Linked DNA regions of Homo sapiens: all the other regions are linked to region 5. Evidence: promoter capture Hi-C in 16 types of primary human blood cells and fetal thymus (Javierre and others, 2016). All regions are on one chromosome and are shown on one strand. Each heading gives the region's core, a stretch centred on a gene start or on the middle of the fragment in contact. The rest is flanking DNA. Distances are from core to core; before and after follow the strand shown. Region 1 has its middle 52 kb from the start of BRMS1L. Region 2 has its middle 100 kb from the start of LINC00609. Region 3 has its middle 82 kb from the start of LINC00609. Region 4 has its middle 120 kb from the start of BRMS1L. Region 5 holds the start of NKX2-8 (NK2 homeobox 8). Region 6 has its middle 91 kb from the start of BRMS1L. Region 7 overlaps SLC25A21 (solute carrier family 25 member 21).

Region 1 (4,278 bases), core at 412-2,911, 700 kb after region 5:
ATTGTCTATATTAAATTATCAGTTAAGCCTTCCCTGATTAATAATATTCCAGAGATTATATTGATTATAGTAGATAATTAGGTAAAAACACAACCATACAAAATTCTATTTTAAGAATTTTGAGGACAAAATTGGGAGAAATGTGGGGCAAAAATCTACAACATGGTTATTATTTAATAGATAAATATAAACTATGCAGTTAGTCCTCCATATCTGTAGGTTTCACATCAGCTAGGTTCAACCAACCACAGATGGAAAATATTCAGAAAAAAAGAATAGTTTCATCTGTACTGAACATGTACAGTCCTTTTTTTCTTGTCATTATTTCCTAAACAATACAGTATAACAAGTATTTACACAACATCATATTGAGAATTACAAGTAATCTAGAGATGAATTAAAGGATGATGTGCATAGGTTATATGCAAATAACCATATTATATAAGGGACTTGAGCATCTGTAGATTTTGGTATTTGCAGGGATCCTGGAACCAATCCCCTGAGGATACTGATGGATGATTATATTTACTGCCACATCCCTTCAGAGCACTTTGATCTGTATTACAAGCTCTCATGTTCCCTTTTGTTTAATTACATACTTTGTTTCTACAGTAACTCTAAAGCATATAACCAGTTGCAATGTCCCTAAGCCCTTTACATGGTGAATTTTTTTCAGCTAATAAAGAGTAATAATAATATAATCCTTGTGTAGAGCTTTATCTTCTTCCTAAACATCTCTTAATTAGTATGCAACAGGATTAAATACAACTGAAGTCTCACTATACCATTTTGAATAATTAGGAGGAAAAATACAAATTCTAACCTAGGCACCTAAGTCTTGTAGGAATTTACTGCCACCTTCAGGTTTTAATGAAAATGCACTGGGACTGTAGCTTTTACATTTCCAGATGATAGTCCCTGGTTAATATAGTAGAAATATTAATATTATTTTCTGGCTTTAGAAGCAAAGTACTACTATCTAATTTAGATTGCAGTACAAAATGCATTCAGGAAATGCCTTTCGCCTTGTCTTTTTGTCTTTTGTGATTCTTTCAATAATGTGTAATTGAAAATTAAAGTCTGTTTTTTATCAGCCATTATAATTATATACTAGAAGTTCCCAGATCTGTGTCCAGAATGTACTTTGTATCATTGTCTAAATCTAGTTAAAAAAAAAAAACTATTACAGCAAACTGTTTTAAATGTTCCACGTGTCAATGCCTTCCAGCCAAAGGCCACCAGGAACACACCGGCAGTTGCACAAGTTGGGTTTCTTGCTCATTTCAGGGAGGGAGAAACCACACCATAGGGAACTGTGGATGTCTGAGTAAGAAGGTGTTAAAAGGGACTTATAGGATTTGGGCTTTTATTGGGAGATTTTTGGTAGGGTTTGAGGAAGTGGGCTTTGCTCTGGATAAAATGCTGTCAGGAAGTGGGGGCAATCCCATAATTTAGTATCTTAATGAGTTTTACTTATAAAGCAGGTGGAATGAAGTGAGGCTAATGCTATAATTGGTAAAGAAGCAGAAGTCATTCACATTAGCCAGAATAGGGGAATGTTCCACATTTTTTGTGGTTTGCAGACTGACTTTGTTTTTGTCTATATTTAGACAAGATGTTGTTGGGGTGGGCGTTGACCCCACTTCCTCACGGTCACAGAGTGGCCGTGATGTTGGTGTTCCGTGAGATTGTTTATGTTCAACAGAACACCAAGGCCTATCACGCAGTTCCTAGTTGTCAGGGACTGCTTTTCTCTTTCTCATGCATATATTTGTAATTCCATGAATACCTTTTTTTTTTAATTCCTTGACTTTGTGCTGAAATTATAAAAGTTTGTGATGATTTTCAAAGTGGATATCAACAGAATATGAAGCTCTAAGGATGCATCATAAATGTTGCAAGGGTGTGAAATCCAGCTCAAAATCGTTTGGAAAAAGGGGAATTTATTAGAAGACCCACATAACACAAGGAAGACCGGAGTGCAGATGGACTATGAGTCAGCTCATAGCACGAGGCTAAATGCCAAGAAACTCCCCATCCACCTCTCATCTCCTCAGCTGTCTCCACAGGGCAGGAAATGTCATTGCCTATAATTTCCAAACTTTATTGTCCCAGTTCCAACATAAGAGGGAGACTGATACTTTTTCCTGCAGTTATAGTTTAAGAGATCCAAGAGAAGGGTTTTAATTGGGGCAGGCTGAGTTACACGTTCACCTAGTGCACTCAACTAGGACCAAGAATTGTGCAGTATTAGAGAAAGAGGTGTTCTCATTAGAACCACACAGTCAGATCAGGGAAGAAGCATTTCCTGGAAAAAGTAGAATTGAAGTTCTGGGTAAGCAAAAGATTTGAAAAAAAGATTTAAAGCTGGGAGGAAAAAAAAATCAGTTCTGGGTTCTAGAAATGTAATATTTGCTATAAAGAGAAAAATTAAAATAAAATAAAAAGAGAGAGACCCAGTTAGGCCATCACAATTATTTCAGTAAAATATACCAGAGGCTTGAACTAGGGCAGCACCAGTGGGAATAGAGAAAAGAGAATGCTTTCAGTTAGAAATGTTTCAGAGTTAGAATCTACAGGACTAGCTAATTCCACAGATGTGAGGAGAAGTCAAATTCATCAACAGCCCTTACATAGGATTTATCATGTAACATGCCCTGTTCTACACACTTGACATATATTCATTAAGTCCTCACCACAACCCTATGAAGTATTATTTCCATTTTCAGATGGGGAAATTGAGGCACAAAAAGGTTAAAAAGTTACCCAAGGTTGACGGGGTGCAGTGGCTCATGCCTGTAATTCCAGCACCTTGGGAGGCCGAGGCAGGTGGATCACCAGAAGTCAGGAGTTCGAGACCAGCCCGGACAACATGGTGAAACCCTGTTTCTACTAAAAATACAAAAATTAGCCAGGCGTGGTGGTGCGCACCTGTAATCCTAGCTACTTGGGGGGCTGAGGCAGGAGAATCACTTGAACCCAGGAGGTGGAGGTTGCAGTGAGCCGAGATCACACCATTGAACTCCAGCCTGGGCAACAAGAGCGAAACTCTGTCTCAAAAAAAGAAAAAGAAAAAAAAAAGAAGTTACCCAAGGTCATACAGCCGATAAATGGTAGAGTTCACATCCAGCTAATCTGGCTCCAAAATTCATGAGTTTAGCTACCTGCCACAACCTCTCCAAGGTCTGAATTTATGTGAGTCATTGTGTGTATCAAGGGTGGAAGCACAAATAGAGTACATTCCAGACTGGGAGAGGAATGTGCACAGGAGATAATATTTGGTTTTCTTTATATTAAGTTGTAAATGTGTTAAGAGTAACAGATGGAAATGCCCAATGGGCAACTTGAATATATAACTCGGGTAAGGGTAGAGGCTTAAATTTAGAATTTGTTAGGACCTAAATGGTAGCTGAAGCCAATGAGTGAATGAAATCTTCTAAAAGGAGTAGAATGATGGCCTAACATGCAGCCCAGAGAAAAACAAAGAGAAGGTAGAAGAATGATCTTCAATAATGACCTAGAAATTAACTAACCCAGTGTTTCTGATGATTAGGAGAAATAGGCATCATCATATGCTGTTAGTAGGAGCACAAATTGGTACAATTTGTTTGCAGGGAAGTTTGGCAATATCTAATAAAATACAAATTTTCCCTACCATTTTTTGACCCAGCAATTCTACTGGAAATTTATGCTACAAATATACTCTTTCCTAGCATCAAAGATATATGTATAAGAGTGTTCACTGCAGCCTTGTTTAATAAGAAGGAAGAAAGGGAAGGAGGGAGGAAAGACGGAAGGAAAACAGCAACCTCAATGTTCATTAGTATTGTGCTGGCATTCCACACCATAGAATTCTATGTGGTTATTCCATAAAAATAAATACCATGTGGTCATTAACAAGAACAAAGTAGATCTCTGGGAACTTCTATGGAAAGATCATCAACATGCACTAGAAATATTCAGTGATGGGGGGGAAAAGAAAAAAAAAAACCAACAACATATGTTTAAAAAGAAATAAAAAGAGAAATTACATTAGTTCATTTTCATGCTGCTGGTAAAGACATACCCAAGACTGGGTAATTTATACAGGAAAAAGGGGTTTAAGGACTTACAGTTCCACATGGCTGGGGAGGCCTCACAATCATGGCTGAAGGCAAAGAGGAGCAAGTCACATCTTACGTGGATGGCGGCAGGCAAAAAGAGAGAGCTTGTGCAGGGGAACTCTCGTTTTTAAAACCATCAGATCTCGTAAGACTCATTCACTATCACAAGAATAGC
Region 2 (4,013 bases), core at 1,101-3,600, 620 kb after region 5:
GTAAGGAGAGAAAATTGCCCATGTTCCCACCACTGTTCTCACCACACATTATTAACATTTTGGTGTATTGCCTAGTTTTAAGAGTCAGAGAAACAGCCAAGTCATATAATCAGCTCGATTGAATAGATTCCTTACTAATCAAAATATCCCTGGAGACTTTAAATGATGGAAGGATCCAAGGAGAATTAACAACAATAAGGGAAGTCTCTGAAATTTGGACAATGCTTACCCAGAATTTATTCTTATAAGATTAGTACTAATACACAATCTACAAGTCCATCCTTCCCAAACATTATCTACCTACACCTAAACTAAAATAAAGCTCAAAAACAAAATGCTACATTTTCCTTAAGCTCCTATAATTGTACTTATCCATGAATTCAGTGGGAAAATTATTCCAACCAAAACAAAGGTCACATTTTCTAGATATCATAGCCAAAATTATGTTTTTGAGACACACATTTGATAACTAAGTAACCTTTAGATTACTAATTGTGTAAAGTTGCCAAGGTGATAAAAGCAAAACAAAAGTTCTAGAGAAACTTTAAGATTATTTGTGCACCTGCCTGTTTCCCCCACAAACAGAGCTATACTTTGATGGAAAATTAAGAAAATAATTATACAAAATATTATAATTTTAATACAGGAGTATTAGTCAGCTTGGGCCGCCATCACAAAATACCATAAACTGTGTGGCCTGAACAACAGAAATTTATTTTCTCACAGTTTTGGAGGCTGAAAGTCCAATATTAGGAAGCCAGCATGGTCAATTTCTAGTGAGGGCTCCCTTCCTAGCTTATAGACAGCCGCCTTCTTGATGTAACCTCACATTGCCTTTTCTTCATGTCTGCAAGTGAAGAGAAAGCAAGCTCTGGTGTCCTACTCTTCAAGGACACTAATCCTATCAGATCAGGGCCCTACCCTTATGACCTCATTTAGTCATAATTACTTCCATAAAGGCCATATGTCCATAAAGTCACATTGGGGGTTAGTCACATGATTTTTGAGGGATACGATTTAGTCTATAGCATTCCATTTGCTCTAATAGTCATATTTTCTGGCAGTAATTTTATGTAGCTCTGAATATTTTGAAAATAAGCACTTACAGAGGGGTAAGTTCTTCACCTCCTCTCTGAATAACATTTTACCAATAGCTTCATACAACAAAATAAGCTTCATAAAAACTAAACATGATATGAAGACACAAGTGGCAAGATATACATATGTACATGTGGGTGAGGAGGGAGGGAATAGAGAGGTTCAAAGTTCGTTCACTTCTGAATCAACTGAAACCTTGTGTTTCACCTTCAGATTTGGGTCCTAAAATACCCAGTATCATGAAACATAGCTAGGTTGGTAGGTAGATAGGTAGCTATGTTGAAACCATTAAAAATCGATGACCAAGTAGGTATACATGAAAGAATTGGATTCAGAATAAACAATGCAAGCTGAAATTAGAACATTTTGTTTTATGGTACCTTTATGTAAAGTATGCTTGTGTTTAAATATGGAATCAGGAAACTATTTTGGGTCAGAATTTAAAATAATCCCATTCTTTTGTATTTCTGATTAACACATTTGTCTTTGAGGTTCTTCACCTGAAGTACAAAACTAAACAGAAAAATATATAAATCAAATATTTTGGCCCTTCCCTGGTCTTCCTACCACAGGCTGATACTATTCAGAAAGCATGTCTTTTTCCTCACAACATCTGAAGTACAATATAGAAATTCATCCTTTTCTATATTGAAACTGGGCCTTTCCCCAAGATTTTTATTTTGCATTTAACAAAATAACAGCAAATATCAGGTATTAGAAGGATCGAAACAACCTCTTCTATTCTGTTGTCCTTAGAACACCATCTTTTATTCATAGCTTCTCTTGTGGTGCTGGGAGGCAGATTCTGTTGCTATAGCAACGCCCTGAATATCCTTGGGGATAGCTTACAGTTTTACTTTTTTTTTGAACAACAAAGAGCCATTGATACTACATGTTGCCAAAGGTTATAAAAGTTGAATTCTAAAATGAAAATATTTCTTCTATAGAAGTGGTACACCATATGTGTCCCACAAATTCAAAGAGATATGTAAGGATATGACCTTTGTGTGAACACTGATGAATCTAGTATAATACTGTTTGGATTCAATGGATTATTCACAGCAGAAGTAGTTGAAGTGTATGCCTTGTTTTCTAAGACCACTGTGGGGGATAAGGGGTTTATTCCCAGTATCTGTAAAGATCCAGGAGCAAGAAAAGATAAATAAATCAAAGGTCCCATCGCTTACATTTTGTTTGTTACTTTGTAATCACCTTCCCATCCCCACCCCCATCAAAATGAACTGCTATATCAAAATCCAATTACACTTTGACAGTAAATAGATCCTCAAAGAGTGGTTGCTACTGAATCCTTGCTCCTCAGAATAGATATTAAATGTACGAGATTCTCAAGTGCTCTGAAATCTGTATTCCTTGCTTCATTTTAACTGGATTCTCTTCATCTGTGAAAAAAAATTCCTTAGCTATCTGCTTTGTAAAACTAGGGAAAAAATTTCAAGTATTTCTTTCAAGATAAGTCAGCTCATCGCCCTAGAAACCTGAGGGGATGCACTGAGAAACACAAACGAAGAGTTGGAGGCACCACAGATTCATTTCCTGGAAAAACAGCCGTAAGAGCTTATAGAGGCTCAGGAGATGGGAATCTGGACTTTTCTCAATAATGGGAGAGAGTGATACATGCTGAAAATGTAGATAATACATTAGGATTGATCCCAATCTCCTCCACTCACCACAGCCTGCGCGAATTCACTGGAGTTAGAAGACCCTCCCAGCAGATCAAGAAAAACCCATGACCCAAGGCCATTCATTCATTCTTTCTTTCTTTTGTCAATATACTAAGTGCATGTTATGTCCCAAGCCAATCAAAGGCTTTCCAAATGCTTATTAAATGCCTGATTGTACTCTTGAAGAGTTAGTCTCTAATTCAATAAAGCCTTCGTTGGCACAGGTTCTATAGGTATAATATAGAGAACTTTATTAAAAATAACTGGTTTAGAGGGTAATCATAACTAGTAACAACAAACACACAGATTGTGTTTCTAAATACCGTTTCCCACTAAAAGGAACCAGGGTTACTTGGAGAAATGGCTGATTCCAAAAATGGTTGGAATAGGGAAAATACAAGGCAACCTGGAATATCTTGTTGTTCAAGAAAGCAAGAAAGTGCTTACATACTAATAGAGGCATGTCAAAAGGACACAAGAACTAATTTGAAGGAGCTCCCACTGTCCATATCTTGGACAATTTGATCATTAAAATGAATAATGACAGAGATAGATTATCACATTAAATAAAAAATAAATGCATGAGTCCATAGCAATACTTAGAAGAAAACAGGGCGGCAGAGATGGGGAGAAAAGAGAAGGAGGAGGAGGTAAGGGAAAAATAAAAGAAAGCTCCGCTTTACAGAAGAATACCAACTGTTATGGGCTGAATTACATCCCCACCAACATTTGTAGGTTAAAGCTTTAACCCCCAATGTGACTGTATTTGGAAAGAGGATCTTTAGGGAGGTAATTAAGGTTAAACGAGGCCCTAAGGATTGGGCCCTAATTCAACAGAACTGGTATCTTATAAGAAGAACACACCAAAGGGCTCTCTCATGCTTTCTCTCTCTCTCTCTCTCTCTCTCTCTACCCCCTTCTCTCCCCCCTCTCTCCCTCTCTCCCTCTTCCCCCCCATGCATATACACAGAGAAGAGATCCTGTGAGGACAAAGTGAGAAGGTGGCATCTATAAACCAGGAAGAGAGGCCACGCCAGAAACCAACCCTGGCAGCACATTGATCTTGACTTTCTAGCCTCCAGAACTATGAGAAAATAAATTTCCATTTACGCCACCCAGATTGTGGTGTTTCGTTTGGCAGCCCAAGCAGACTAATACACCAACTAAAAAATATTGAGGAAATGATAGAGTTAGAAAATCACCATTTTTCAACCACCAATGTAAAAATGATCA
Region 3 (3,975 bases), core at 52-2,551, 590 kb after region 5:
TGCTTTTTTTTTTTTTTTTTTGAGATGGAACCTCACTCCGTCACCCAGGCTAGAGTGCAGTGGCACAATCTCAGCCCACTGCCTCCGGCTTCAAGCGATTCTCCTGCCTCCCAGCCTCCAGAGTACCTGAGACTACAGGCGTGCACCACCATGCACTGGTAATTTTTGTATTTTTAGTAGAGACGGGGTTTCACCATGTTGCCCAGGCTGGTCTTGAACTCCTGGCCTCAAGTGATCTGCCCGCCTCAGCCTCCCAAAGTGCTGGGATTACAGGTGTGAGCCACCACGCCTGGCCTAGACCATGCTTTTGTTCTTCCCCTCCTTCAGGATCCCATCAAACCCTCCCTTAACATTGATCTTTTCCATTCTACTGGTTCCTTTCCCACTGCCCACCAATATATTCAGGTTCCTGACCCCCAGGCTACTTTCAGCCACCAGTTGATTTCCTTCCCTTTACTGCCAAGCTTCCTGGGAAAAAAACCCTACATGAGCACTTTGTCCTTAACCCTGCCCTTACACCAGCCCTCCATCCTTAATCTCTGTTCAAACCACTCAAGTTGAATCCTGCTTCCTGTCAGAGCCCTGAAGGTACACATTCTAAATCTCACTTTTCTCATCCTTAAAACCAGGATAACAATACAGCATTACTTAGGATGAGGGCTAAGCCATTGTAACAAACAGACCCCACATTAGAGTGGCTTACCACAGAGGCTTATGCTATTCTTGCTGTAACACTCCTCAAATGAGAGGAACAGTCATCAGGGAAGCCATGCTCCATGTGATCACTCAGAGAACCAGGATTTTTCTACGCTGTTGGTTCATAAAATTTTAATGTGCGTGTGAATCATCCAGCTCTTGTTAAAAATGCAGGTTCTGATTTGATGTCTGGGATAGGGCTTGAGAGGCCGCATTTTTTTTGAGATGGAGTGTTGCTCTGTCACCCAGGCTGGAGTGCAGTGGTGCTATCTCAGCTCACTGCAACCTCCACCTCCCGGGTTCAAGTGATTCTCCCGCCTCAGCCTCCCGAGTAGCTGGGACTACAGGCATGCACCACCACGCCTGGCTAATTTTTGTATATTTTGGTACAGACAGGGTTTTGCTATGTCAGCCAGGCTTGTCTTGAACTCCTGACCTTAAGCAATCCACCCACCTCAGCCTCCCAAAGTGCTCAGTTTACAGGCATGAGCCACCACGCCTGGCAAGAGTCTGCATTTCTAACAAGCTCCCAGGTGATGCCTGGCTGCCCGGATATGAAGCATACTCTGAGTAGGAGGAGCCTAGGGTGTTGCCCTTTCCTGCTTGATCAAAGCAGAGTCATAGGCACCTCTATATTCCAGCTCTCCAGAAGGGAAAGACGGCATGTGGACGAGTGCATGCTCAGTGTCCTAAGGCCCAGACTTGGGAGACCCCATCTGCTCACATGCCGCTGGCAAGCATGAGTCATATGGCCACACCTAGAGGCAAACAAGAGTGGGGACCTAGACATTATTTTTATCTATCGTGGAATTTTCTGGGAGGCACTGAGAACAAAGAGCAGATGTATTTGAGTGTGGAACACTCGCCAAAACTAAGACAATTATTGGAACACTGTCAGCCATTCCAGCTGCTGTGGAGTGAAATGGCGTAGAATGGTGATGGCTGGAGCTGACAGTGGTTGGGCAGCGGGGTAGAAGAGTGAAGGTGTGGCTTGAAGCACCGCACTATGACCCTAGGAAGGCAAGTACATCTCTAATAGAAATGACAGCCTGGGACACCACGCATTCAGAAGTAGATACAGGAGTCATTTGCCCTTGCTGGTCTATTTTTGGCTCTCGTGGAGGTCCAAATGTTTCTGTATAATTCTGGATATTGTTCAAGGTGCAGGAACCCTGCAAGACTTGGTCCTATGCTGCCCGAGCTGAAGGCAACCAGAGTATCGCTATGGCATTTCCCTAAATGCTAGCTGTACGAAAGCGCATGTTCTGCAGCAAGACTTTCTAAGTTTAAATCCCAGTTCTGCCACTTCCCGTGTGACCTTAGGCAACTTACTTCATCTCTCTGTGCCTCAGTTTTGTCATCTGTAAAATAAGGATATCTACATTACTCGTGTCATAAGATAATTTGAAGATTGAGAGTAGTGATGTATTTTAGAAGCTTATACAATACCTGATACACAGTAAGTCTTAAATATCATGCTATGTTTTATCTCAACTTTATTTTCTTAAACTGCTTTAACCACACAATGGGTTCTCTTTGTTTGCTGCCTAGACAAAGCTGATTTATCAAGACAGGAGAACTGCAATACAAAAGAGTTTAGGCCGGACACGGTGGCTCACACCTGTAATCCCAGCACTTAGGGAGGCTGAGGTGAGTGGATCACTTGAGGTCAGAAGTTAGAGACCAGCCTGGCCAACATGGTGAAACCCCATCTCTACTAAAAATACAAAAATAAGCTGGGTGTGGTGGCTGGCAGGCGCCTGTAATCCCAGCTACTTGGGAGGCTGAGGCAGGAGAATCGCTTGAACCTGGCAGACAGAACAAGACTCCAGCCTGGGCGACAGAGTGAGACTCTGTCTCAAAACAAACAGACAAAAAAAAAAAAAAAAATAGAGAAAGATTTAATTCACGCAGAGTCGGCTGTAAGGGAGAATGGAGTTTTATTATTACACAAATCAGTTTCCCCCAAAACTCAGAGATTGGGATTTTTAAGGATAATTTGGTGGGTAGGGGGGTTGGAAAGTGGGGAGTGCTGATTGGTCAGGTCAGAGATGAAATTATAGGGAGCCAAAGCTGTCCTCTTGTGCTGAGTCAGTTCCTGAGTGGGGGCCATAAGACCACATGAGCCAGTTTATCGATCTGAGTGGTGCCAGCTGACCCACTGAGTACAAGGTCTGCAAAATATCTCAAGCCCTAATCTTAGGTTTTACAATAGTGATGTTATTCCCAGGAGCAATTTGGGGAGGTTCAGAATCTTGCAGCCTCCAGCTGCATGACTCCTAAACCATAATTTCAAATTTTGTGGCTAATTTGTTAATCCTGCAAAGGCTGTCTAGTCCCTAGGCAGGAAGAGGATTTGTTTGGGGAAAGGGATGTTATTGTCAGCTGTAACTTTGTTTCAAAGGTAAACTATAAACTAAGTTCCTCCAAAAGTTATTTCACCTACACCCAGGAAAGAACAAGCGCAGCCTGAAGGTCAGAAGCAAGATGGAGTCATTTAAGTCGGATCTCTTTCACTGTAATAATGTTCTGAGTTATAATTTTTGCAAAGGTGAATTCACTTCTGACTTCCTCAGACCTGTCCAAAATTCATTTCTCACCATTCTAGCTCCTTTTTTCCTCAGTCGCCCAAAGTTGAAGAACGAGACAGCTCAAGTTCTGTGATGATCCTGGCAACCTCACATACCCAAGTATAATGAGTGTGGAAGAAATCCACCTCAAATTACACTGGAGCACAGCACACGAGAACAACTTCTCATGAATTGCTCTTATGGGCAACCCTAAAAGAGTAGAAAGAAAGCAGCACCATCAGCCCTGGAAACTCCTTAGGGCCCAGATGCATTCCTAATAGTTCATGATGAAGTTAAATCATCTCACTGCTCCCCTCCCCTACACTTGCCCTCGTTGAAGACGTTTTGTGCTGTTGGGTTAAAATTCCAAGGGCAATCCTGAAGAGAAAAAGAATTACCAAAGGATTCAAATAAACATAAAAGGGAGAGTTTGATTGGACTATGGAGAAGTCCTAGCTATGGAGAATGCCAAGGAGATAGAGCAGGCCTGTGCTTTGGGGACAATGGAGAGTACAGGGCTGATTGCCTATGGAAGCATTCTACTTCTTTTTTTAGCATCTTCTGACAAAGCCATCTCTTTACTCCTCTCAAACTTCTTCCTTAAACCACTACCATTCCCAGAAGCATGCTACCACCCAAAACTGGAGCCCCTGACAATCAGAGCAACTGGAAGTGTCCATAGAAAGCTCTACATGACAGACAGCAGATG
Region 4 (3,708 bases), core at 86-2,585, 640 kb after region 5:
ACTGTCATAAAATAGATAAATTAAAAGATCTCTTCCAAGAAACACCACACTGAAGATAATTCTAATAGAGTTAGCACAAGAGAAACTGAGAAAAAGGCAAAACTGATCCTTCTATTCCTTGTATAATATCTTTGCCAGATAAAAATACTAACAATTCATTGACCACAAATATGTGTGTGTGTGTGTGTGTCTGTGTGTGTATGTATGTGTATATATAGTGTATATATATATATATATATATATATATATATACACACACACATATAAATATGAAGAAGCCTATTTAAAATATGGATTTATATCTAGGCTATGAAAACCTTACAAAAATTTACTAAATTTGATAAAGATTAAAAAGTCTCTTTTGCAGGATTTTTATTCAAAAGTACAAATTAAAAATACCTGTTCTTTCTGCCTTAGGAAGCATGGTCAACAACATTCTGAGGGCGGTGTGGTGACCATCTCACAGGAGGCAGTGGCCCTGCCCACATTCCTTTTGTCCAGATTGTCCCTATGCCAGACAACTGCATCTTGCCGCAACACCTGTGTTCTCCACCTGAGGGCTCTCTCTGGGGCCGCAGATAGGTAGGCCGGAAGTGCTTGGTTATTGGTGTCTAGCCAATGACAAACATATAAGAGCTGAGGGATGTATTGCCTTCCATGTGACACAACTCAGAATCTGTACTGACTCCAGAGGGTCCCAGGGGGAGCTGCCCACAGCAGAAAGCTGCTTGAGAACATTCCCTGCGGTAGCTTCATTTCCTGCCTTTTCTCACTGCCGCCATCCCTTCCTTGGATCTCTTCCTCCCAAATCTATGATTAATTCTTACACTCGAATCCATGCCTCAGGATCTGCTTCTTTGGGAACCCAACCTAAAACAGTGACTAAAAGGTATTAGAAAGAAGGAGGAGGTGAAACAGAGCTCAACATTCAAAGAAATACATATTACAATTTTTGCTAAATAGCTGGATCAAATTATAAATATTTCTAACAAGTATCTGTTCTTTATGTTTGTTAGACTCTGTGTCAATAATAAAATACTTGAAGAGCAACTTTTTTGTGATCCAATAAAATAAAATGTAAGCATATATTCTCATCACTATCTATTAAAACACTATGTTAAGTAAATACTGAGTATAAAAACTAACTAAAAAGGAGAAAAAAGAGACCCTAGGATATGGTGACAAAGTTAGCACCATAGTGAAATTCATCCCCCACATCATTACAGGCAAGACATGCATGAAAAAACATTGACACCAATGTTCTCACTTATAAGTGGGAGCTGAACAGTGAGAACACATGGACACAGGAGAGGAACAACACACCCGGGAGGCGGAGGTTGCAGTAAGCCAAGATCACACCATTGCTCTCCAGCCTGGACAACAGGGTGAGACTGCGTCAAAAAAAAAAAAAGGAAAGTATATTAGTATATTCTAGAGGAAGAGTAGATAGCCATGCAAGTTTGGGAACAGATGAGTTGGGAAACTACCTTGACAGAGAATAACATTTAGGAGAAAAAGCTAATGTATCTGCTGTATCTGAGATGCTTGTGGGAAATAAGTATTGATGTCAGAAGGCTGGGCTTACAAATATAAAGTTGAGCATTATTGGCTTATATAACACTTTATTACTTTATCAATGCAGCTTAAAAGCAGATTATTTTCCTTTTTTTGTGGTGGGGGGTAAGTCAGTTTTACATCCGATTAATTCACACAGCTTAAACTCTTAAATTTTTTTCCCATGTGATATTGTTAAGGCATTTCTCTCTATATTCTGTTTTTGCCATTGAGTTTTTGGACCTAAGGACAAGACTTTACCCTTGCACCTATCTGATTTCATCTTGCTAAAGTCAACCCAACGATTCACTTTTCAAGCTCTCCTGGGATGATGATCACCATCAAGCACATCAGCCATAGCTTCTGGCTTTATTTTGTAACTTTCTAGCTTATGTTAATTGAAAAGTTTTGTGTTATTTCTTTTCGCCTCTCTTGGTTCTCAGGCACATGCTATGAAATTGATTGGCTCATGGCACCCTATCATCATCAGTTTATTGTTTTATTTTATTTTATTTCATTTATTTTATTGAGACAGAGTCTCACTCTGTTGCCCAGGCTAGAGTGCAGTGGCGCGATCTTGGCTCGCTGCAACCTCTGCCTCCTGGGTTCAAGCAATTCTCCTGCCTTAGCCTCCCGCGTAGCTGGAATTACAGGCACGTGCCACCACATCCAACTAATTTTTGCATTTTTAGTAGAGACGAGGTTTCGCCATGTTGGCCAGGCTGGTCTCGAACCCCTGACCTCAGGTGATCCACCCGCCTCGGCCTCCCAAAGTGCTGGGATCACAGGCAGGAGCCACCGCGCCTGGGCCTATTTTATTTTTACTTTTTGTTGTTGTTGTTGTTCCCCCTTATACCACATTCCCAATATTGTTTCTTCCCCTTACGTTTTCTCCCACCATATTGGAACTACATTAAAAAACAAATAAATAATAAGGGCTGTACAATGTTAACTTTTCCATCTATGAGAATGCCAGCCAGGCCCAGTGGCTCACACCTGTAATCCCAGCTCTTTAGGAGACCGAGGCGGGGGGATTGCTTGAGCCCAGGAGTTTGAGGTTACAGTGAGCAATGATCGTTCCACTGCACTCCAGCTTGGATGACAGAGTGAGAGGCAGTCTCCAAAAAAAAACAAAGAGGGGAGAAAGAGAGAGAGAGAGAGAGAGAGAGAGCCGTATCTCTCCATTTATTCAGATTCATTCATTCAACAAATATTTCTTCAGTGCCTACCATGTTCCAAACTCTAAGAGCTTCTTTATATCTTTTTATCAAGTTTTAATATTTTTCCATGAGTATTGTCTGCATTTCAGGTCACTTTCTAGATTCTTCAAGCTTTGTTGCTCTAATAAAAGCCATCATATTTTCCATTGCATATTTTAATTGGTTGGTGAAAGTGTAGAACTCTTCTTAATATTTTTGTTGTTATTATTGGATTCTTCTAGCAATCTCACTGAACTCCTTCATTAATTTTAATAGCCTGTCACTTGTCTTAAGTTTTCTGTGAAAATCAAATGTCAAATCGTCTAAGAATAATGACAATACTGTCTCTTACCTTCCAGTCCTTGCACTTTTTCTATATTTTCTTGCCTTGCTGCATTGGCAGAGAAAATTACTTTTGCAAGGATTTACAAACCACTCTCTCAATAATTGATAATGAGACTACCAACCTACAGTTTACAAATTAGCTTCTCTTCTCTTTTTGGAAAAAAAAAAAACGACTATTGAATTTTCGAAGAGCTCTCGTTTTCATCAATATCTTTTTTAAAAAATTCTCAGTTCAAACATTTTCAGAATTTTTGTATGCATTTCCTGAGGCAATTTAAAATGCTAAATGCCATGTTTTGAGTTGTCTTATAGGGAGATTCAGGTTAAGGCCTAGATGATGCTGGAGAAAGGTAAGCAATGAGATTTTATTTGAATCTCAAGACTTTATGTAATAGTAGCTGAAATGTAGGTTATATATCTTTATTTCATTTTTAGTATAGATTTACTCCCATCACATTTACTATCGTCTTCAGAGTTGACCCTTAAAATAATAATAAATGGAAAAGCATGCGATGCATCATAGGGGTTACAGGAGCTAACAGATTTTAGTAAGACACCATGTAATATTATATGAAGATGAAGAACCCTGAAGCCCAAGTTCATTTAGTAT
Region 5 (4,155 bases), core at 1,608-4,107:
CACTTATGGCAGAGGAGGAGGGAATCCAAGATGAAGCAGGTAAGCTGCAGCCCTTTCTAGAACCAGGAGCTACAGGGTTTCCATGGGACATCTAAAATGCAGACCAAGGCCCAGGAACACTGTTTCCGAAGCCCGTGAACATGAAGCTAGAAGTAATATTTGGAGCGAATCCCAGAGCAAAGTCCTTCCCAGAGCACAAGTGCTAGATGGGGCCTGTATCTCTGCTTTGGAAGCCAAACACTAAGAGTAAAAGCAAATATTTGATGCTGAAGAGCTCTTAAGAGCTGAAGAGCGCCATTTACTTATTTCTACACGTCAGTGTGGGCTTAGGATGTTAAATAGATTAAAAGGCTAAGAGAGGTCAGTCACTCAAGGAAAGACTCTTCTTTTGCTTCTCCTGACTTGGTTCTCTTCCCTAAATTGTTATCCACCCCACCCTACTCCTGTGGAGGATCCTTGGGAAACTCAAAAGATGACACCTCCTCTCCTAGAACATCCTGGAGACGGAGTCAGTCCTGGGGCTAAGAATTCGAGAACCTGAGGGAGGAGGGAGTCTAAATATCCGGCTGGTAAATGCTACAATGAAGATAGGTTTAGAAAAATTCCTGAGATACAGAATCATAAAACTGGTAGGGTCCTTAGAAATTACCAAATCTATTCTCCTACTATCTTCTGTATCAGATTAATTTTAAAAAAAAAAAGGAAGGAAGGAAGCTTAGAGAAATGAGGTGGTTAGAGATAGGTAGGGGCAGAGCGAGGATGCGAACCGATTTCCAGGCCAGAGCTCCTTCTACCTTACACAATCTCATAGTTCAAGACCGAATTTGGGAATCAGTCTTAACACTTGCTTCCCCAGGACGGTCTTTGTCAGTGCCTCAGCTTCTCACTAGGGAGGTGGGCTGGCAGAGATTGCCAGGCCTCGGGCTCTGGCCAGAGATAAGTCCACGAGGCCTGGAGCCAGTCTGCGACCTGCCCACTCTCTAGACGCTGGGGGCTCGGGAGCTGAGGAGCGGTGCGCGGCGGGTTTCCAGACTCCGCTGTCCCCTGCCCACTCCAGGCTCCCGCCCCGGCCCCGTCTGCAGAGAGGACAGCCAAGTCATTTCAGTTTAATCTTATTTAAAAAGACATAACTAATAAATCTATTGCCAGGGCCGCGGAAAGACGGCCAGCAGAGTCGATCGTGCTCCCAATCCCATTGAACCCCATTGAAAACCATGACAACACCGGACAAGCTCCGATTTATCCCGGCGCGTTAAAGCGCATTGTGAGCAGACGTCAATCATGCATTATTCCGGACTGAACAAATGCAAAATCTTGACTGGAACAAATGCTTCCAACAGGTCCGGGGCGTCGAGCTCCATTTCCCCTTTGTCCGCGGCCTAGCAGTTGGCCTGTATTGGGGTTGCCTCCGCCCGACCACCCAGCGCGCGGTGCAGCTCCGGGCACCTCGGGCACGCTTGATAGGGAGGCTGCTGGGGAGGGTGCGCGGGGCTTGACAGGGCCGCCGCCGCCGCATCCGAGCCAGGTTCGAGTTCAGCCCGGGAGGAGCCAGGACTTCTGGTGCAGCCACCCAAGTACAGAGCCCTTCGCTACAATTTAGCAACTAAATATCCAAACTACTAGCTTCAGTAGGAGAGGCCTCTGAGAGGGCGTTCCTCTGTAGATTGAAGCGCGGCCAGAGCTAGGCCATGGCCCAACAAAATGTATCCACGGCGGCCTGTTCCCTGCGCCTCCTACATTGATCATTTTCTAGGGTGGAACTGTGGAAACTAGAAGATCCCAGAGAAACCCATGGCCGGTGGTATTTTCTGCCGGGTAGGCCCTGTCCTAATTCTCCCGATCGGTCCATTCCCGGACCAAGGCGGGCAGCCTCGTCAGGGTCTGCCATGCTGCGAGCGGGGAGCGTAGGCCATGGGCAGGCTCCTGGGCAAAGACCAAAGCCCAGGCAGTGAGAGTGCCGTTGAGGCTATGGGGCCAAGGCGCACAGGCGGCACCAGTTCATCTGGCGACTCCAAGGAGGCCTCAAAGCCCTCACAGGATGCCCTGAGAAGCGCCCCCGCCCAGGGGCTCTAAAGCGGGCCTGGACCCAAATTTGTGGAGCTCGGCCTCCGAGCTCCGAGATCGGCAGCGGCCGGGCGAAGCTGGGCCAAAGAGACAGGCACTGTAGACCTAAGTAGCTTGGCTACAAGCCTCTTCTGTTTTGCCGGCCTGTGGAGACGTGGAGCTGGGGCTCCGAATGTTGTCCCAGCCCTTCCTCAGCACCTCTGAGGCTGTTAGGGGGATGTATGGTGTGATCCGAGGCTCCCAGCGGCCGTTGAAACCCCTGGGCCAATGCTGGCAGGGCCAGGCTAATCTTTACGCCCTCCTGAAACTTGTCATCCTGAATCTTAGAGGGGCCCAACCAAAAAGAGAAAGGGAGCGCGCCAGAGTTTAACGCCGCTTTGTAAATCACTTTCTGGATAATTGCGGGAAACTACCACTCCAGCAAACAAGCTCGAAGAATAAAGCAAACAGGGAATAAATTCCTGGGTGCTAATAAACCCACCCCTGCCACCCCCACCCTTCCCGGCGCTCCCGCGGGGCCTGGCCTCAAGTCAGCCCAGGAGGAGGAGGAGGAAGCTGGGGCTGGGTCAGGCGGGTGGTGGCCACCGCTCGCCACCCAAGATGTTATTCACTGGTAACAATCCCCATTATCTGTCCCCACTTTGGGCTAATCAGACAGAATCGCTAATGCCAAATGCTGCTTCCTGCAGCCTCTGGGAGGTAACTGGGCGCCAAGGGGCGGGGTGCGGGGCGGGGTGCGGGGCGGGGCGGGGGCGGAGGTGGCACCTTCCGGGCTCGCCCCGGCTCTGGTCCAGTGCTCATTCAGGTACTTAACACCCTGGAGACCCGGACCTCGGCTTTCAAAGCGGCCTGGGTGGGAAGAGCTGTTTATATAAACAGAGATTCCGCTGTAAATGCGCTAATATCCCGGCTGCCAGCGCATGGCGAGCGCCTCCCACGCCCATCCGTAGGAGCGGCGTCCCGGCCGCCCCTCCGTTCCCAGCCTGCCCTGCCCCCGCCTCCTTCCCCTCCTCGGCCATGGCCACCTCTGGACGCCTGAGCTTCACCGTGCGCAGCCTTCTAGATTTACCCGAGCAGGACGCGCAACACCTGCCGAGGCGGGAGCCAGAACCACGCGCCCCCCAGCCCGACCCCTGCGCCGCCTGGCTGGATTCGGAGCGCGGCCACTACCCTTGTAAGTGCGTGGTGGATTGCGGTGCGGGGTGGGAGGTAGGAGGCGTGGGGCAGCAGAATCAAGGGCCCAGCCCACGAGGGGCCGGAAAGCCGAAATCCCAGCCCAGAGTCTAGATTTCCTCAGTCTTGGAAACGGGAGCCCTGTCCTCGAACCCCTAACGCATTCATCCCGGTCGGCACATCCTAAGAGCAGATCCCTGCCTGGCACTGGTGCTCCGAGATTTGGGGTTTCTGTGTCTGACGATTTCTAGAGGTCGGAATAATTGAAATTTAAAACGCGCCGCCACCTGCCGCCCCCACCCCACCCCCCGCCCCCTCTCCATGCCTGAAAACACGGCCACGATCTCCAGGCCTCCGTCTGGGATGGCCAGTGTTGGCGAGTTTACCCCCACCCCGTTCCCACTCAGGGCTCCGCAAACCTCGGCACACTGCAGTGCAGTCGACCTGGAGGAGGCCGGCGCTGGTGACCCAGCTTGTGATAAACTGGTCGGCCAGCGCAACTACCGGTGCGGACATGTTAAGAGGGCCCCGGGGTGGGTTTTTTCGGGGCACGATCTCAGGCCCGCTGATGACCGCTGTGGTATGAATGAGGTCACCGCATTCGGAGAGGTGGATGTCCAGATGTGGACTCAGGAAATGGCCTCATCCCGAAAGTCTCGGGCTAGTGGGCGTGCCCTCTGGCCAGTGCCTCCACGCCCGCGCCAGAAGGGCAGCAGGCCCTCGTAGGGTCCGGCGTCTCACCCACCCGTGTCTCCTTTGCTGTCCCTAGCCTCGGACGAGAGCAGCCTGGAGACCAGCCCGCCAGACTCGTCGCAGCGGCCGTCCGCTAGGCCCGCGTCTCCGGGCTCGGACGCCGAGAAAAGGAAGAAGCGGCGGGTGCTATTCTCCAAGGCGCAGACGCTGGAGTTGGAGCGGCGC
Region 6 (3,971 bases), core at 1,448-3,947, 670 kb after region 5:
GGTACATATATATGTATATAGATATTCATTGCATCATTATTTAGAATAGAAAAAGGAAACAATTTAAATTTCTAATATATTAATTTGTTTATATTTTGATACAGCTATACAATAGCTGGCATACTTTGCAGGTACCTTGTTAAAAAAATGAATGTGAGGGGTGTGTGTGTGTGTGTGTTTGTGTATACACTAACAAATCTGGATAGAGGTAGTAGCCAAAGTAGCAGCAGGATACAGGAAGCATACTCAAATTGAATAACTTGACTAGGGTTCAATATAGGGACTATTTATAAGGTATAGGCAAAATGTAGAGAAACAACAAGGAATAGTATAGAACCTGAAGTTTGTATGAGTGTGGGGGATAGGATGTTCTTACCATGTCTAAGCCTGTCTGAAGGAGCCAGAGGAATTAGGCAGGAAGATTTATGTGGGAGAGGGCCTTTTGACAGGACATCTGACTTTTTGTAAAAGGATGTAGCCCTCTCACAGAAACTCTACAGCATGGTTGCTGGGAAACAAATGTCTTGGCCTCTCTCTCCTTCTTCCCCCTTCTCTCTCCCTGGTGTTCTTCATTGACTAAGCCCTACCAGAAGTCAGACCTCAAAGGGATTCTTTGATGAAGGCCATATAATTAGTCTCCCAAGGCACAGAGCAAGGTGGAGAGGATTGGGACTAGCACTAAAGGGACAAACAGAAAATATCGAGCTCAATGTATGTACACAACATGTTAATGGAGGTAATTCTTGACAGTGGGGTTTTGGGTTAATATTTTCTTCCTTAATTTCATCTTCTAATTTTTGAAAATGAACACATATGACATGTAATTTTTTAAAAGTTAAAGTTTTTTTCCATAGAAATAATTTGCCTCAAATTATCTGAAAATTATGAATTTGCTTTGCCAAAATTCAATTGTTTTGTGTCTACACAGCTGAATGCCCTCTTCTAACCTTTAATCCTTATTTACTTAAAAATATCCTCAGGGTTTCTTTACTTAGAAAATAAGAAGTTTTCCTAATTCCAACCAATGTTAGCACTTGGGAGTGGGGTAGGGAATTGGCTTTATTTAGGAATATTTATTACCTTGATAAAATTCTGGGGACCACTGTGACCATTTAAAGCCATATTATAAACACAAGTACTCTGAGTTCCTCAGAAGAAAGGGGCTTTAAAAGCCCAATATCATTCTATAATCCTGGTAGAATTTAAAATATAGAATTTAGTTGGATTAACAGATAGCATTTTCTTTACATAAAATTATGAAACCAGATTAAGGTAAATAGCCTATCATATGTCCTTGAGTGTACATATAGAAACATTTCTATTACTGATTTGTGAACATTTCTTCTCCATGGAGCAGCTTTAATATATATCTTTTTTCTTCCTTTATTATGAAATCTTAGATTATCGATAATAATGTATAATCATTCTGAAGATGATGTTATATTGACTACACTTAACTAAGAGATGAGAAGGGTCCTTTAAAGGTCTATCTACAGCCTTCAATAGAAAGTGTTTGCTTTGTGAAATAACCTACATATGCATCGCTGAACTTTCTTCTTCTTTTTCTGGGCTATTGCTTTTTCCTTTAGTGGCACAAAACATTTTAAAATTGTATTTTCTATTAGTATTTTTTCTGGGGAAAAGACGGCAATGTGTGTATGGCATGTAAAAATGCTATGTATCAAAATCAATGATAAAAAGAAAATCTTAAAGGTAGCCAGAGAAGAAAAAAACATGTATGAATTTCCTATCACTGCCATAGAGATTATCTCAAACATAGAAGCTTAAAACACAAATTTATTATCTTACAATTCTCTAAGTCAGAAGAAGGACCTGGGTCTCACTGTGCTAAAATCAAGGTGTGAGCAGTGATTCAAAGGAATCAAGGCTTCATTCTTTCCTGGACACTCTAGGAAAGAAAGTGTTTCCCTGCTCTTTCCAATTTCTAGAAGCCACCTGGATTCCTTCCTCCATCTTCAAAACCAACAGTAAGGCATCTCTCTGATTCTGCTTCCATAGTCACATCTTTTTTCCTGACTCTCTTTTGTCTGTCTCTTCCATTAAGGACTCTTGTAATTACACTGGACCCAGCCAGACAATCCAGGATAATCTCCCTATTTTAAGGTAATGTAATTAGCAACCTTAATTCTATCTTCAGTCTTAGTTACTTTTTGCCGTGTAACCCAACCTTTTCACAGGTTCCAGGAATTAGGATGTGCGCATCTTTGGCAGGCCATTATTCCACCTAGCATAGTCTGTCTTCTGGCCCCTAAATTTACCTATCTGTCTTGAATGCAAAATACATTCACCCCATCCCCAGATCTCCAAAGATCTCATCCCTTACAGCATCAATGCAAAGTCAAAAATCTGAACTATTCACTAACTCAAAAGTCTCAAATCTTATCATCTAAACCAGGCATGGATAATTGTTTTGCCTACCACATGCATGTTATATATAAAGGAACAAAGATAACAATGACCGTAGATTTCCCATCTGAAACAATGTAAGTGAGAAAGCAGAGAGGAAACATCTTTCAAGCAGTGAAAAAAATTTTTAATTTTGAATTCTGTACTCAGCAAGAATATATTTATTTTATTCAGTGAACCCCAAAGAAGGCAGAAAAAGTTGAAAAAGGGAAAAGAACAGATGAAGATATAAAAAATAGCCATATGATAGATCTAAACCTAACCATATCAGTGATGAGATTAAATGCAAATAGTCTGAATACCCTAATTGTAAGGCACAGCTGATCAGATTGGATTAAAAAAAAGCAAAATCCAATTATATGCTGTTTACAAGAGACACACTTTAAATGTAAAGACACAAACAGGTAAAAAGTAACAGAATAGAAAAAGATATTCCATGCTAATATTAATTAAACAAAAACTAGAATAGTTATTAATAGCAAACAAAGCAGATTTCAAAATGACATTAGCAGGGATGAAGAACGTGTTATCATAATGAAAAAGCAGTCAATTCATCATAAGCAAAAAACAATCCAAAACATTTGGGCACCTAATAACAGAGATTCAAAATACACAAACCACAAATGTACAGAATAGACAAATCCACAATTACAGAGATTTAAAAACCTTTTTTTAATGACTGATAGGAGAACTAGACAGAAAATCAGCAATGGTATAAAATACTTGAACAACGCTAGTAACCAACTTGATCTAATTGACCTTTTTAGAAAACTCCAACAGCAGCAGAATGCACATTTTTTTCCACATGCACACAATACAAGATAGACCATATTTTGGGGACATGAAATATGTCTCTGTAAGTTTAAAGGTATTTATACATAAACATGTGCATTCTCCAGTCACAATGGAATTAAATTAGAAATCAATAAGCAAAAGATCTTTGGAAAATTCTTAAATATTTGGAAACTGAAAAGTGCATTTCTAAGCTCTAAAGAACCCATGGGTTAAAGAAGAAATCAAAAGAAAAATTAGAAAGCATTTTGAACTGAATTGAAATGAAAACACAACACATCAAAACTTGTAGAATACTGCTACTATACTAAGCAGTACTTAGTGGGAAATTTAAAGCACTAAATGACCATACTAGGAAAAAAACAAGGCCTCAAATAAATGACATAAGCTTACACCTTAGGAAACTAGAAAAAGAGAGCAAATGATACATAAAGTAAACAGAAGAAAAAAAAAACAAAGAGCAGAGTAGAAATCAATGAAATAGAAAAAAAGGTAGAGAAAAATCAACGAAACAAAATTATGATTCTTTAAAGAGATCAATTAAATTGATAAACCTCTAGCCAGAGTGACCAAGAAGAAAAAGAGAGAAGACATAAATTACCAAAATCAGGCATGACAGAAAATCACAATAGGTTCTACAGCTATTGAAAGGATAATAGAGGATTATTATGAACAAATCAAATCAACAATATATAAAAAGGATGCATTGTGAAACAACAGAGCTTATCTCAGAGATATGAGATTGGTTTAAC
Region 7 (4,132 bases), core at 1,048-3,547, 570 kb before region 5:
TTTGCTTTACACAGTCTTTTAAAAATTTATTTTAAATTCATTTTATTTAGTTTTTTTCTTCTTGTGTTTTACACATTCTAACTCCCCAAACAAACCCATCCACTCTTTGGCTTCAGTGTTGTCTGTTTGCAGGTGACTTCCAGAACTGTGTTTCTGACTTCTCTGCGCTCTGCAGGCTCACATTTTTAAGGTATATAGCAGAAATAAAATGAAATTAACTGGGCATGGTGGCAGGCGCCTGTAGTCCCAGCTAGTCAGGAGGCTGAAGCAGGAGAATTGCTTGAACCCGGAGCAGAGGTTGCAGTGAGCTGAGATTGTGCCACTGCACTTCAGTCTGGGTGAGAGAGCGAGACTCTGTCAAAAAAAAAAAAAAATTGAAATAAAATGAAATTGAGAGTCAGTGGACGCTAATGGTTTTCAAAGATGTTTCAGAGATATATTTTGAAACTAATATCAGACCTTCAAACAAATTATCATTTTCTCATTTCTATTTTGAGTTCAGTCTTTTCATTCATTCTTTTTGTCATCTTTAGAAGTCACAATGAACTTCCTGGGATATTTGTTTGGGTTGGGTAGATCCTTCCTAACTATCATAGTCAATAAGTATGATAAGATTTTAAAAAGTAAGATAAATCTTATCTTTTGAGTGCTAACATTTACTGAATGCTTACTATGTGCAAAGCATCTTACTTTGCTTAAATAATCTCTATTATTATTATTATTTTTGAGATGGGGTTTCTCTCTGTCGCCCACACTGGAGTGCAGTGAAGTGACCTCGGCTCACTGCAAACCCCTTCTCCTGGGTTCAAGCGTCTCTCTTGCCTCAGCCTCCAAAGTAGCTGGGATTACAGGCACATGCCACCCTGCCCAGCTAATATTTGTATTTTTAGTAGAGACAGGGTTTCACTATGTTGGCCAGGCTCGTCTTGAACTCCTGACCTCAAGTGATCTGCCCGCCTTGGCCTCCCAAAGTGCTGGATTCCAGGCATGAGCCAATTTGTAATTTCTTGAAGATGAGGAAAGTGAAGCTCAGAGAAATTAAATATCTTGTTCAAGGCTGATGACAGACACAGACTCAAACTCTGCTCTTTGCTTTCAAAGCTTGAGCTCTCATCCATTACTCCACCCTGCCTCTTAGTGTGCAGAATGAGAAATCAGGTAAGCAGCCCCTTCAAGTATTGCCCCCATAAGTCTTCTTTTTCTCTCTGGTTATGTTAAATACCACAGCTTTTTCTTGAACTTGAGTGTTAATGAACAAACAGGGTCTGCCCTTGTACAAAAGTCCATTTCTTGTTTTTGCAGATTTTTAAATGCCAGCCATAGCTTAAGTATGAAATTCTCCATATTAACCAGCAGTGCCTCTGTTGGCATTAATGCGGCATCTTTTTTTCTGCCAGATGCTACAGGCAATTGGTCAGGAAGTGGGCCAAGCCTCCACCCTCACGTATTGTTAACTGAATTCGCACACAACTAATAAGATACTGGTGTGACTCAGTAGAGTGAGAGCAACCCAAGAGTGGACAGGAGGGGCCTGTCTGAAAAAGGAGGGAATCTTAAGTCGCATGTAATTTAATGTCTGTAAAAACTAGAATAGACTACTGTAGGGAGAACGTATAGCCTCCTCTTTGGAGAAAGAAGAATGAAATTCAATAGAACTCGATAGAATTGGATGACACCTAAAATAGAATCATGGCCCAAAGTAATTTTGCAGAATGAAGAGAAAGAGAGAGAGAGAGAGAGAACCTACCAATGTGCTAATATTTCTTGAAAAGTTACCAATATTTATCGACCATCAAGTATGCCAAATCAGAATAATACAATTGTGAAAAACATTAGTTTTTGTTCTGATTGCTTGAGGCTTCTATTGCTGTTATTATCACTATCATTTTGGGGCATGATTGTAGAGGCAGGTTAAAGCACTTTGGAGTAAATTGCAAGATCCTCTCCAGAGATCTGAGAATGAGCAGCATTATTTTGGAGCGTCCGCCTAGGACAGCACATTTGATTGGCTAGTTTATCACAGTGGACATTTATATCTGAAACTAAGATTACTATTCTGTACTTGTGCAGACCTATAGATGGCGCTGTCTTCCTATAATTTTGGTGATTTGCTTTTTATTTTCTTTTTAAAAGGAAAAGCTTTCTGCAGATATAGTTAGATCTAGAAGTGTGTTAACTTCTGATTACATTCCACTATTGCAAAGCATCTTTGCCTTGCATAGATCATAGAGAATTCTACACTTGAAAAATACAGACTGTACTTTGGGAATTAATTTTTCTTTTAATTGTGATTCATACCTGTGTATGTATGGAAAAATGGGTTTATGTATATGAGTAAGAAAGAGGGATGGAAGAAACTGTTTTTATTTGTATAATATTTATTTTCTTTATGTTGGTTCTTGCCGTAAAATTTGAATTAGAGTCCTGGATAAAATAGAAATCATTGATAAGCTTAGGATAAATGTCATAATTTCTTGTAGATCTTAGAGATTACCTGAAACTCCTAGATTCCATAATTTTGTTTTTCAAAGTTATTAGGGCTAGGGTATGTATTATAGTCATAATAAATTATAAACATCTCTAAACAGGAGCTACAGTGCCAAACACGTAGGTTTTATTTATGTATCTGGGACTCAAATGCCATTTCTTGTTTTAATTCAGTGGCCTTTAACATAAGAAATTGGGTATATGTATGAATAATAATTTTTCTTGAATGTAAGTTCTAAACAGGATTTTTTTCCTTCAACCCTACTCCTTCTGTAAGGAAAAAGTTTTAAGTATGATACATATTATGTTGTGGATTTGGTTTATGAATGGGAAATGCCAGAAGTGCTTGCTTCTGTAATCAAACTTTAACCACAAGATGGCAGTATAACTTTCCCATGTCTTTAAAAAATTTTTAAATAATTACTAAATTAAATTATTTTTTCTCTCTTAATGAGAAATGTATACAGCTAAGGGATTTCAAGATAGTTCTAAGGAGGATGAATATTGAAGGTACTGTACTAAATATAAGAAATATTAAAGACTATTTAGTGATTATTTATTTATTTTTTGAGTCTTGCTCTGTGAGTCAGCCTGAGTCTGTGCCCAGGCTGGAGTTCAGTAGTGCTGTCTCAGCTCACTGCAACCTCTGCCTCCCGGTTTAAGCGATTCTGCTGCCTCAGCTTCCTGAGTAGCTGGGACTACAGGCGCCCACCACCATGCCCAGCTAATTTTTGTATTTTTAGTAGAGATGGGGTTTCAGCTTCCCAAAGTGCTGGGATTGCAGGTGTGAGCCACCGTGGCCGGCCCTAGCGGATTTTTTTTTTGATGGAGCAGTTTTTAGTTGCCCTAAGAAAACATTTAATTTATATTCTGTAAAGTTGAAATAGGAATATGATATGAAAATGGTAAGCAACTTTGTTTTACAGAGCAATATAGTTTCATTAGGTTTGCCTCATAAAGCATCAAGAAAGTGACAGTAGATTTTCTGTTTCTTTCATGTGTTCATGGACATCTGCATTGGTGTATACCTTGTATTTTGAGCTCATAGCTGGAGATTAGAAGTTCAACAAGAAGCAAGGAAGGGAAGAAAAAGAGAAAAGTAGAGGCACTGGCATCTAAGTTAAAAAAAAACAGTGGTGATAATGATGTCTATGTGATTCTTGTTGGCTTCATATCTTCCATAGTCAAAAAATGGATCATCTAGGCAGGCACAGATAGCTCACGCCTGTAATTCCAGCATTTAGGGAGGCCAAAGTGGGGAGAATTGCTTGAGCCCTGGAGGTTGAGGCTATTGTGAGCCATCATTTGTTCATTCAATTTGGATATTTAAATAGCCGTCATCCAGCATTATATATACTGATAATGTTTTCATTGGTATGCTTACATAATATGTAGTATTCCATTTCACTCTGCAAAGAGGCTTTTCACAAGCATCTATTTTACTTTTCCTTGATTTTTTGTTATTAGTTTAAAAGAGTGCATTGGATCTATTTCTTGTTTTTTAAGTCTTATGAAGAGTGAGCCCCTCTAAGGAAGAGACCAAGTCATGTTTATTTTGTATCTCCAGGCCTACCACAGTGCTTTGAATATAGTAGCTGCTCAATAAATGTATATTTATTCAATGCATTTGCCACAAAGCAATTCA

What was found. The method cuts DNA at HindIII sites, captures the fragments that hold promoters and counts their contacts. A CHiCAGO score of 5 or more calls a contact.
Region 1: a contact is called between a fragment that was not itself captured here and the fragment with the promoter of NKX2-8 in region 5, in 1 of 17 cell types (M2 macrophages). The highest score is 7.5, in M2 macrophages.
Region 2: a contact is called between a fragment that was not itself captured here and the fragment with the promoter of NKX2-8 in region 5, in 2 of 17 cell types (M2 macrophages and M1 macrophages). The highest score is 8.4, in M2 macrophages.
Region 3: a contact is called between a fragment that was not itself captured here and the fragment with the promoter of NKX2-8 in region 5, in 1 of 17 cell types (M1 macrophages). The highest score is 6.2, in M1 macrophages.
Region 4: a contact is called between a fragment that was not itself captured here and the fragment with the promoter of NKX2-8 in region 5, in 1 of 17 cell types (M1 macrophages). The highest score is 5.6, in M1 macrophages.
Region 6: a contact is called between a fragment that was not itself captured here and the fragment with the promoter of NKX2-8 in region 5, in 1 of 17 cell types (M1 macrophages). The highest score is 5.4, in M1 macrophages.
Region 7: a contact is called between a fragment that was not itself captured here and the fragment with the promoter of NKX2-8 in region 5, in 2 of 17 cell types (endothelial precursors and erythroblasts). The highest score is 10.7, in endothelial precursors.

What each region holds. Positions count from the first base shown.
Region 1 is chr14:35,876,428-35,880,705 of GRCh38, reverse strand. No RefSeq gene overlaps it. Among named protein-coding and RNA genes, the nearest start is that of BRMS1L, 52 kb to the right of the region's middle. The HindIII fragment of the contact is 8,468 bases long and covers 1-4,278 here.
Region 2 is chr14:35,963,529-35,967,541 of GRCh38, reverse strand. No RefSeq gene overlaps it. Among named protein-coding and RNA genes, the nearest start is that of LINC00609, 100 kb to the left of the region's middle. The HindIII fragment of the contact is 2,349 bases long and covers 1,176-3,524 here.
Region 3 is chr14:35,986,761-35,990,735 of GRCh38, reverse strand. No RefSeq gene overlaps it. Among named protein-coding and RNA genes, the nearest start is that of LINC00609, 82 kb to the left of the region's middle. The HindIII fragment of the contact is 1,669 bases long and covers 467-2,135 here.
Region 4 is chr14:35,941,896-35,945,603 of GRCh38, reverse strand. No RefSeq gene overlaps it. Among named protein-coding and RNA genes, the nearest start is that of BRMS1L, 120 kb to the right of the region's middle. The HindIII fragment of the contact is 3,104 bases long and covers 1-2,887 here.
Region 5 is chr14:36,581,316-36,585,470 of GRCh38, reverse strand. It overlaps NKX2-8 (NK2 homeobox 8), which reads left to right and starts at 2,857. Exons shown (of 2, transcript NM_014360.4): 1 at 2,857-3,238; 2 at 4,007-4,155. The coding sequence starts at 3,082. RefSeq lists an enhancer at 3,466-4,155. The HindIII fragment of the contact is 11,395 bases long and covers 717-4,155 here.
Region 6 is chr14:35,915,644-35,919,614 of GRCh38, reverse strand. No RefSeq gene overlaps it. Among named protein-coding and RNA genes, the nearest start is that of BRMS1L, 91 kb to the right of the region's middle. The HindIII fragment of the contact is 1,824 bases long and covers 1,786-3,609 here.
Region 7 is chr14:37,148,629-37,152,760 of GRCh38, reverse strand. All of the region lies in intron 1 of SLC25A21 (solute carrier family 25 member 21), which reads left to right. Among named protein-coding and RNA genes, the nearest start is that of SLC25A21-AS1, 21 kb to the left of the region's middle. The HindIII fragment of the contact is 312 bases long and covers 2,142-2,453 here.